Regions from separate parts of the Homo sapiens genome. Here all the other regions are linked to region 3. Evidence: promoter capture Hi-C in 16 types of primary human blood cells and fetal thymus (Javierre and others, 2016). All regions are on one chromosome and are shown on one strand. The core of a region is centred on a gene start or on the middle of the fragment in contact, and the rest is flanking DNA. Distances in the headings are between cores, read along the strand shown. Region 1 overlaps NTAQ1 (N-terminal glutamine amidase 1). Region 2 has its middle 50 kb from the start of NTAQ1. Region 3 holds the start of ANXA13 (annexin A13).

Evidence for each region. Contacts are between HindIII fragments. The CHiCAGO score rates a contact against its expected background, and 5 or more counts as called.
Region 1: a fragment that was not itself captured here is called in contact with the fragment with the promoter of ANXA13 in region 3 in 1 of 17 cell types (M1 macrophages); the score reaches 5.9 in M1 macrophages.
Region 2: a contact is called between a fragment that was not itself captured here and the fragment with the promoter of ANXA13 in region 3, in 2 of 17 cell types (M2 macrophages and M0 macrophages). The highest score is 6.6, in M2 macrophages.

What each region holds. Positions count from the first base shown.
Region 1 is chr8:123,434,617-123,437,316 of GRCh38, reverse strand. NTAQ1 (N-terminal glutamine amidase 1) reads right to left here. Exons shown (of 6, transcript NM_018024.3): 4 at 716-864; 5 at 1-107. Among named protein-coding and RNA genes, the nearest start is that of NTAQ1, 19 kb to the right of the region's middle. The HindIII fragment of the contact is 1,430 bases long and covers 545-1,974 here.
Region 2 is chr8:123,465,172-123,467,871 of GRCh38, reverse strand. It overlaps a transcript of NTAQ1 not described here. Among named protein-coding and RNA genes, the nearest start is that of NTAQ1, 50 kb to the right of the region's middle. The HindIII fragment of the contact is 2,119 bases long and covers 333-2,451 here.
Region 3 is chr8:123,736,049-123,738,748 of GRCh38, reverse strand. It overlaps ANXA13 (annexin A13), which reads left to right and starts at 1,356. Exons shown (of 11, transcript NM_004306.4): 1 at 1,356-1,429. The coding sequence starts at 1,415. All of the region lies in intron 1 of LOC105375739 (a long non-coding RNA gene), which reads right to left. The HindIII fragment of the contact is 24,256 bases long and covers 1-2,700 here.

The DNA.
Region 1 (2,700 bases), core at 10-2,509, 300 kb after region 3:
GATATGGCGGCGGAGGCTCTCTCCAATTCCCACTGGAGTCTTTCATGTGAGATCGGTCAGAAGCAAAGTTCTTCAAATATGAATCTGCACGGATCACTCTAAATTTCCTGCAGAAAAATCAATATACACTCACATTAGGGAGATGTCATGTTTGAAATTCTAACTCCATTTTTATATCGACTCATTTCCTATGACATGCACAAAACTACTCATGCATTTCTGTATGGTTAGTAATACAGGCAACTTTACTACCTATTAGAGAAGCATAGGAAATGATCAACCAAACCCCGAAACAGAAAGGCAAAGGCACAAAAATATATCTGGTTGCCTCGATTTACTCGATTTGTGTATCAAGGGCAATGGGCATGATTTTCTGATGCTGCCCTCACAGCCCTCTCAATGGTGACAGCACGAGGTATCCCCACAAAAACAAAAAGAATATAAGAAAAATCCCCAACCCGCTTGAAATTAAATGTCTGAGATCTCATCACACAAAATTTTAAAAGAATGACAACCTTTCATATGATAGATAACTTTTAAAGCTTTAAAACATTTTGAATCTCCTGTGTTGCAAATACATCATTCTTAAACATCAACTCAATGGTGATGTCAGACGAGATCTTTACAAAACAATTGTCAAAAAAAAAAAGAACCTCTGTGGAATCGTCAAATTCTTACTTCAGAAAATAAGTAAATCCATCTTGAATGTCCTCACCTCCTAAACTGTGGGTGAATGTCATCATCAGACTTAAAGGCATCTTCTACATAAGTGTCAAAGAGGCAGGGAAATGGCAAGACAGTATCGAGATCATAAATGAAGTTCTGTCCTCCACTTGAAACATGAAGCAAAACAACATGGTAATCCTAAAAGTAAAAGTTGCTGAAGTTAACCAAGTTACTTCATAATGATGAAATCCCAGTATTCAGACACATACCTTATCACTAAAAAGGATATAGGACTGCTACAGCCCTCCTTATAATAGCAAAATAGAATAAAGCAAACACAACACCCTGAAAACATGAAAACAGACTAAATGTCCACAGATAGGGAAATGGTTAAATAATGGAAATGTTCATAGTCATTAAATGCACATCCTCTGAAACTGCAATTTTACCTCTAGGAAACTTTTTTTTTTTTTTTTTTTTTGAGATGGAGTCTTACTCTCGTCACCCAGGTTGGAGTGCAGTGGCATGATCTCAGCTCACTGCAACCTCCACCTGCCGGGTTCAAGCAATTCTCTTGCCTCAGCCTCCCGAGTAGCTGGGATTACAAGCGCGCACCACGATGCCCAGCTAATTTTTTGTATTTTTAGTAGAGATAGGGTTTCATCATGCTGGCAAGGCTGGTCTTGAACCCCTGACCTCAGGCGATCCACCCGCCTCAGTCTCCAAAAGTGCTAGGATTACAGGTGTGAGCCACGGTGCCTGGCCCCACATATTTTTTTTAATTGAGACAGAGTCTTGCTCTATCACCCAGGCTGGCGTGCAGTGGCATAATCTCAGCTCACTGCAACCTCCGCCTCCTGGGTTCAAGCGATTCTCCTGCCTCAGCCTCCTGAGTAGCTGGGACTACAGACACCCGCCACCACGCCCAGCTAATTTTTGTATTTTTAGTAGAGATGGTGTTTCACCATGTTGGCCAGGCTGGTCTCCAACTTCTGGCCTCAAGTGATCCCCCCGCCTCAGCCTCCCAAAGTCCTGGAATTACAGGTGTGAGCCACAGTGCCGGCCCCACCTGCTATTTGTTAAAAGCTATCTGTATATAAAGACATACGTGCGCATTCAGAAGTACATTTGCATGCATGTGAATGCAGAGGAAAACGTCTGCAAGGATCTGCTCCAAACTAGTAACAAAGGAGGCTTCTGGGGGTCAGCCTGGAGAGGAGAAGGAGGACTTTAATTTCTAGTTTGGAACCACTTTTGCAATTAAAAGAAAGGAAAAACTATTTTTTAAAAAAAGAAGTTAGCCAAGCTTTCATCTGTAGCCACTAAGGGAGAAAGAAAAAGACAGCTTTTCCCACACAGCTCTGTCACAGTGTGGATGTTAATTCTCACCCTCACTCTCAGACTCAAGGTACTGCCCAACACCAGCGATGAGCTGAAAGGGATTTCAGGGAGGTGATCAAGGGACATGAGCAATGTGGTGCTCTGAGTTCTTCCAAAGAAAAACGCTCTCATAGAGAACAGCACTGTGAAATCAAAGCAACCTAGCAACATTAGTAATACCAACTTATATTTCTACAATATCTTAGAGTTTAAAAGGCACTTTCTTTCTCAAATATCATTCTACTTGAGCCCTGTATAAATCCTGAGGTAAGAACAATACTTAAGACTAGGGATGCTGTGCCTTTAAAAGCCTGAGTGCTGCCTTTGGCTCTAAGTCTGTCTTAGCAAAACAGAAAGATTCAAAAATGAATGCCTATTCTCTGGACTTCCCCAGATACATCCTATCCTCCACGCCCCCAAACAGTCCACCACTGCCTCCCAATGGGTCTGCTCATGTCATTCCCCTCCATCTGCAGCAACCTTCTCTACCTCTTTCTACCACACAAGCTCCAGCTAAAGGCTTTCTTCCCACGAATCAATTTTTTATCTTCTCCCACCCCCTGCCAGAATCTCCGCCTTATCCAAATTCTGTTTCTCTCTTAACATCTTCTAATTCATATTACAGGTTTGTTGTTGTTGTTGTTTTGAGACAGA
Region 2 (2,700 bases), core at 143-2,642, 270 kb after region 3:
AGGCTGAGGCAGGAGAATCGCTTGAACCCGGGAGGCAGAGGTTGCAGTGAGCCGAGACCGTGCCATTGCACTTCAGCCTGGGCAACAAGAGCAAAACTCCATCTCTAAATAAACAAATAAAATAAAAATAGATACCTTGAACCTGTCTCTCATATTCACTGCTCCTCTGGCCCTTGCCTCTCCCTTTCTTCCTTGCTCACAATTCTACAGGATTTGGTCTGGTTCTAACTGCTCCAAGGAACCCTCTGGAACCTGGATATGAATGGCCAGTAATTAATTTATGAAATCAGACCCTCAGCTACATTCTATACTCAAGATACTAAAGCCAAGCTTAAAGACATTGATAAAACACTTAATGCAAGAATTATTTTATGAAAACACTTTAAAAATTATTTCAAACATCAAAATGGTACTTAAATCCCATTACATTAACAATCTCATAACACTATCTCATGCCATTGAATATGTGATAAAACCTTCATACAATATCTGGTGGGAATGTAAGTTGGCACAAACATTTAGAAAAGCAATTTGGCGGCCGGGCGCAGTGGCTCATTCCTGTAATCCCAGCAGTTTAGGAGGCCAAGGCAGGTCGATCACTTGAGGCCAGGAGTTCAACACTAGCTTCACCAACATGGCGGAACCCCATCTCACTAAAAATACAAAAATTAGCCGGGCATGGTGGTGCATGCCTGTAGTTCCAGCTGAGGGAGGCTGAGGATCACTTGAACCCAGGAGGCGGAGCTTGCAGTGAGCCGGGATCACGCAACTGCACTCCAGCCTGGACAACAGACTGAGAAAAAAAAAAAAGGAAAAAGAAAGAAAGAAAAGCAATTTGGAATATGTTTCAAGAACCACAAACATTTCCTGGTCCTTTGACCTATTAATACCATGCTCAGGAATTTGCTCTAAGGAAAATTATACTATTAAAAAAAGAACTTATATATAGAAGATGTTTATTTCCAAGTTATTTATGTAACTGATAGGGTAACATAATCAAAATGCCACTTTATTGTTTTTCTTCCATCATCCCTTTACTGTAAAATGGTATCGCCCATGGAAAACAGAATGGAGGTTCCTCAAAAAATTAAAACTAGAATTACCAGCAATTATATGACCAGCAATCCCATTCCTTGGTATATATCCAAAAGAACTGAAAACAAGATCTCAAAGAGATATTTGCACATCCATGTATACAGTTTGCCAGGGGGGAAAAGGGAGGAGGGGCAGCAGGAGAAAAGAATCTTGTCCTCACTCCAGATGAAAACAATTGCAGGCTCCTGCCTGCTGTGTCACTTTCAAGTAATGACAGTCTGATGGTCACATCAAGTCACAAACATGGTCTTACTAGAGTAATTCAGTGAGTCAGTTCATTCTATTCATCAACAATTCCATTTTCACTCAAAAGATTTCTTCCCCTTCTTTGCGAGAGCTGGCAGTTCCCAGGGAGGTGAGGGGAAAGTAGTCATTTTCTTCTGTCTTGCACCATGCGCCATAATCCTCCTCCACTCACTAGCTACTGGCTTGGATCCCATGCCCAAATGGACAGACGGCAAAGAGGTAAGTGGTTATGTCTGGAGCTACTTTAATTGGCTTCTGAGTGGCACAGTTGTAAGCTGACTTCCTGCTCACTGGGCTTTGCAGCTATATAAAGCTGCCTCTCACTTGGGGCACTTTTCTTGGGATCTTTGGTGATTCCCATCTCTGGGAACCTCTCCAGTTGTAATTCTCAGAACAAGGGAGAAGCATTCCATTCCAGCTGCTATTGCCCTCAGCCCCTGGTTCTCTGGCAATCCCGTCCACTCAGACTTCACTCTTTGGCTTCCTCTCACCCTCCCAGAGGGTCCTCTTGGACAGGATTTAAAATGACTTTCATGCAGAATGACAAACTGTGAATGGGTATACAACAGAATACAACTCTAAGTTATAGAGAAAGAATGAACTACTGACACAGGCAACAATATGGATGGAACTCAAAGATGTCATGCTGGCTGGGTGCAGTGGCTCACACCTGTAATCCCAACACTTTGGGAGGCCGAGGTGGGTGGATCGCTTGAGCCCTGGAGTTCCGAGACCAGCCTGGGCAACATGGTGAAACCCCATCTCTACTGAAAACACAAAAATTAGCCTGGCATGGTGGCGGGCGCCTGTAATCCCAGCTACTCAGGAAGCTGAGGCACAAGAATTGCTTGAACCCAGGAGGCAAAGTTTGCAGTGAGCCAAGATCGTGCCACTGCACTCCAGCCTGAGTGACAGAGCAAGACTCTGTCTCAAAAAAAAAAAAAAAAAAAAAAAAAGATGTTATGCTGAGTGAAAAAAGCAATCTCAAAAGGGTACGTACTATACAATTCCATTTACAGAACACTCTTAAAATGACAAAATTCTGGTGATAGAGAACAGATGAGTGGTCGCCAGGGGTTAGGGTTGGCAGGAGGGCCTGACTACAAAGCTTTAGTATGAGGGAGTTTCTCTGCAGTGACGGAAGCTGGTGACGGTGTCCTTGTTTTGGTAGTGATTACACATATCTATATGTGTGACAAGATTTCACAGTACTGTTTATACACATGCACACACAAGAGCATGTCAAAATTCATGAAAATCAAGGTCTATAGTTTAGTTCACAGTATTGTGTCAATGTCAATGTCAATTTCCTAGTTTTGAAAATGTACGGTGGTTCTACATTATCAATGGGGAAAGCCA
Region 3 (2,700 bases), core at 107-2,606:
AGAATTTTCAGTGCACATAGTCTTTAGCCAGCAACTCTATTCTAAGATTTTATTCTACAGATAAGAAAGCACAACAAAGATGTGTATGAGATATTCATGCAAAAGATCAAAAACAATCTAAATGACCTTCAACGGTAGACTGATGAAATAAGGTTTGGTTCATATCCATAACAGTTGACTACATGGCCACTGAAAAAGAAATGTGCCAGTGTCAAATATCTCTTTAGTATATGAAATATACACTATATTAAGTGAAATAAGCAAGGCACAAAAAGACAAATATCACATGTTCTCCCTTATAACAAATATCACATGTTCTCCCTTAAATGTGGGAGCTAAAAAATTGATCACATGAAGGTAGAGAGTGGATAGATGGAGAAAAGAGACTGGAAAGGGTGAGTTGCGGGGGAAGAGGAGAAGTGGGTTAAAGGGTACAAACACACACTAAGATGGAAGGAATAAATTCAGTGTTGGATAGTAGAGTACGGTGGCTGTACTCAACAGAAATCTATTGTACTCAGGCAAACACTCTCAATACCCTGACTTGATCACTACTCATTATATGCATGTAACAAAATGTCTTATGTACCACATAAGTTTGTACAAATAAAAAAAGAAACATGTTGTAATAATCTCAGAAAAAAAAAGGAAAGACAAGAAATATGCAAGGCATGGAACAGAATACATTGTACAAACCCATTTGGTGAGGAAGAAAAGACAAGTTGGATCAAGATAAACAGAGAGGTAGGTAACTAGACAGGCAGACCGACGGACATAGCTGAATATGCATGGACCACTTCAGGAAGGACTCACGGAAAACCTCTGGGGGAAGGAAAAAGGAAGTCAGTAGGCCGACTTTTCACAGGACCTTTATGTATTATTAGAAACAAATTTACCATCTGCACATATTACTTTTTAAATTCAAAACTCAGTAAAATTTTTTAAATGATCTAGTGTAATGCAATGTAGCCTTCGAAAAATTCTCTGTAATAATAATAACAATGTTAGTAAAAAATAGTAATATTTTTCTATTTGGTTAATGCTTTCATTACTAAAAGGCATAATATTTTAAATGAACACCAGAATATGAAAGAATAACTCAACAATTCAGAAGTGAGGCAGGTTTAGTCTTTTAGGTGGGAAGAAGCTATTCAACTTTAAAAGCCTAAACTTTATTTATTAAGAAGTATATTATTTTAAAAACATGGGTACCAAGGAAACCTGGGCAGTCTAAGTTTATCTGTAGCTAGAGCCACTCCCTACCCATCCCCAACAATGTATTCAAATTCAGTGCCAAAAGTTACTTATTAAACACAAGAGATATTATGTCCGGGGGGAAAACTGTTGTAAACTTTGCCTGTAGGAGGACTGATCTCTTGATGAAATACAGAAAAACCATCTCAGAAAAAGGAAAATGGGCAATCGTCATGTAAGTACTCATTGCCTTTGGGAATTGGTTTTAATTTTGGTTAGCATGTGGAAGAATTTAAACTATAAAATCATGACTGATACTTGTATACTTTATCACTATGGTTACCCTTTAATATTGGTTTTAGCAACAGCATACCATGCTTTTAAAATGCATTGAGGCCGGGTGCGGTGGCTCACACCTGTACTCCCAGCACTTTGCAAGGCCAGAGTGGGCGGATTACTTGAGGTCAGGAGTTTGAGGTCAGCCTGGCCAACATGGTGAAACACTGTCTCTACTAAAAAAATTAAAAAAAAAAAAAAAGTTAGCTAGGTGTGGTGGAACATGCCTGTAGTCCCAGCTACTCAGGAGGCTGAGGCAGGAGAATCATTTGAACCTGGGAGGCGGAGGTTGCAATAAGCCGAGATTGCACCACTGCACTCCAGCCTGGACTACAAGAGTGAAACTCCGTCCCAAAAAAAAAAAAAAAAAAGCACTGGGGATATATTATTCCCTTATTGGCCAAAAATCTCTTAAGAGGGGCTAAAGAGAAAGAAGTATGTAAAATAAGGCAGTAAATAGTGCCTTGCAGAGAGCAAATGGTTAATATGTATCTGTAGAATGTATAACTAAAGCTGTTAGTTTGTAGCAAATTTGTATAAAACTTCATAAACTAAGCCCATTCAGAGTTATGTGGGAAAGATAGGTTCATGTTGCAAATATTAATAGACCAAGGTAAATACTCATGTAAGTCCACACAACTTGGATTGCAAGGTGAAAATATTCCATTATTATTTCTAAACATCCACATATTTGCAAATATCCATGGAATGGACTTAATAATTTACATTTCTTTTGAAATGTTTAGGCTCCTGAATAGTGTGTCTATAAATAGTTAATGACTAAAAACTGACTAAAACACTACCTTTTGGAACCAACTACACACAGGACAGATCAGAGTTGAATCTTGAATATTTTTTACATTGAAGTATATCTAAAGCTATTCCAATACAAATCTTAATAAGGTTTTGTGTACCTGCTGTAAATTTCCACAGCAAGAATGATATATTTCATGCACACTATGAGCAGAGAATAAAACTCCAAAACTTTCTGTAAACTGTTACTTTGTCTATAAGGTTTTTCCTTCGCTATATATTCAAGCTGCACTCAGATGTTTACAAACTTACAAATATATTCTTAGGAAAGGCATTGTTTTTCAAATCATCTACAAATAGCATTTTCATACCAGCAGAGATTATGAGCCATCCGTTCAGTGTATCTTTCAGAGAAAC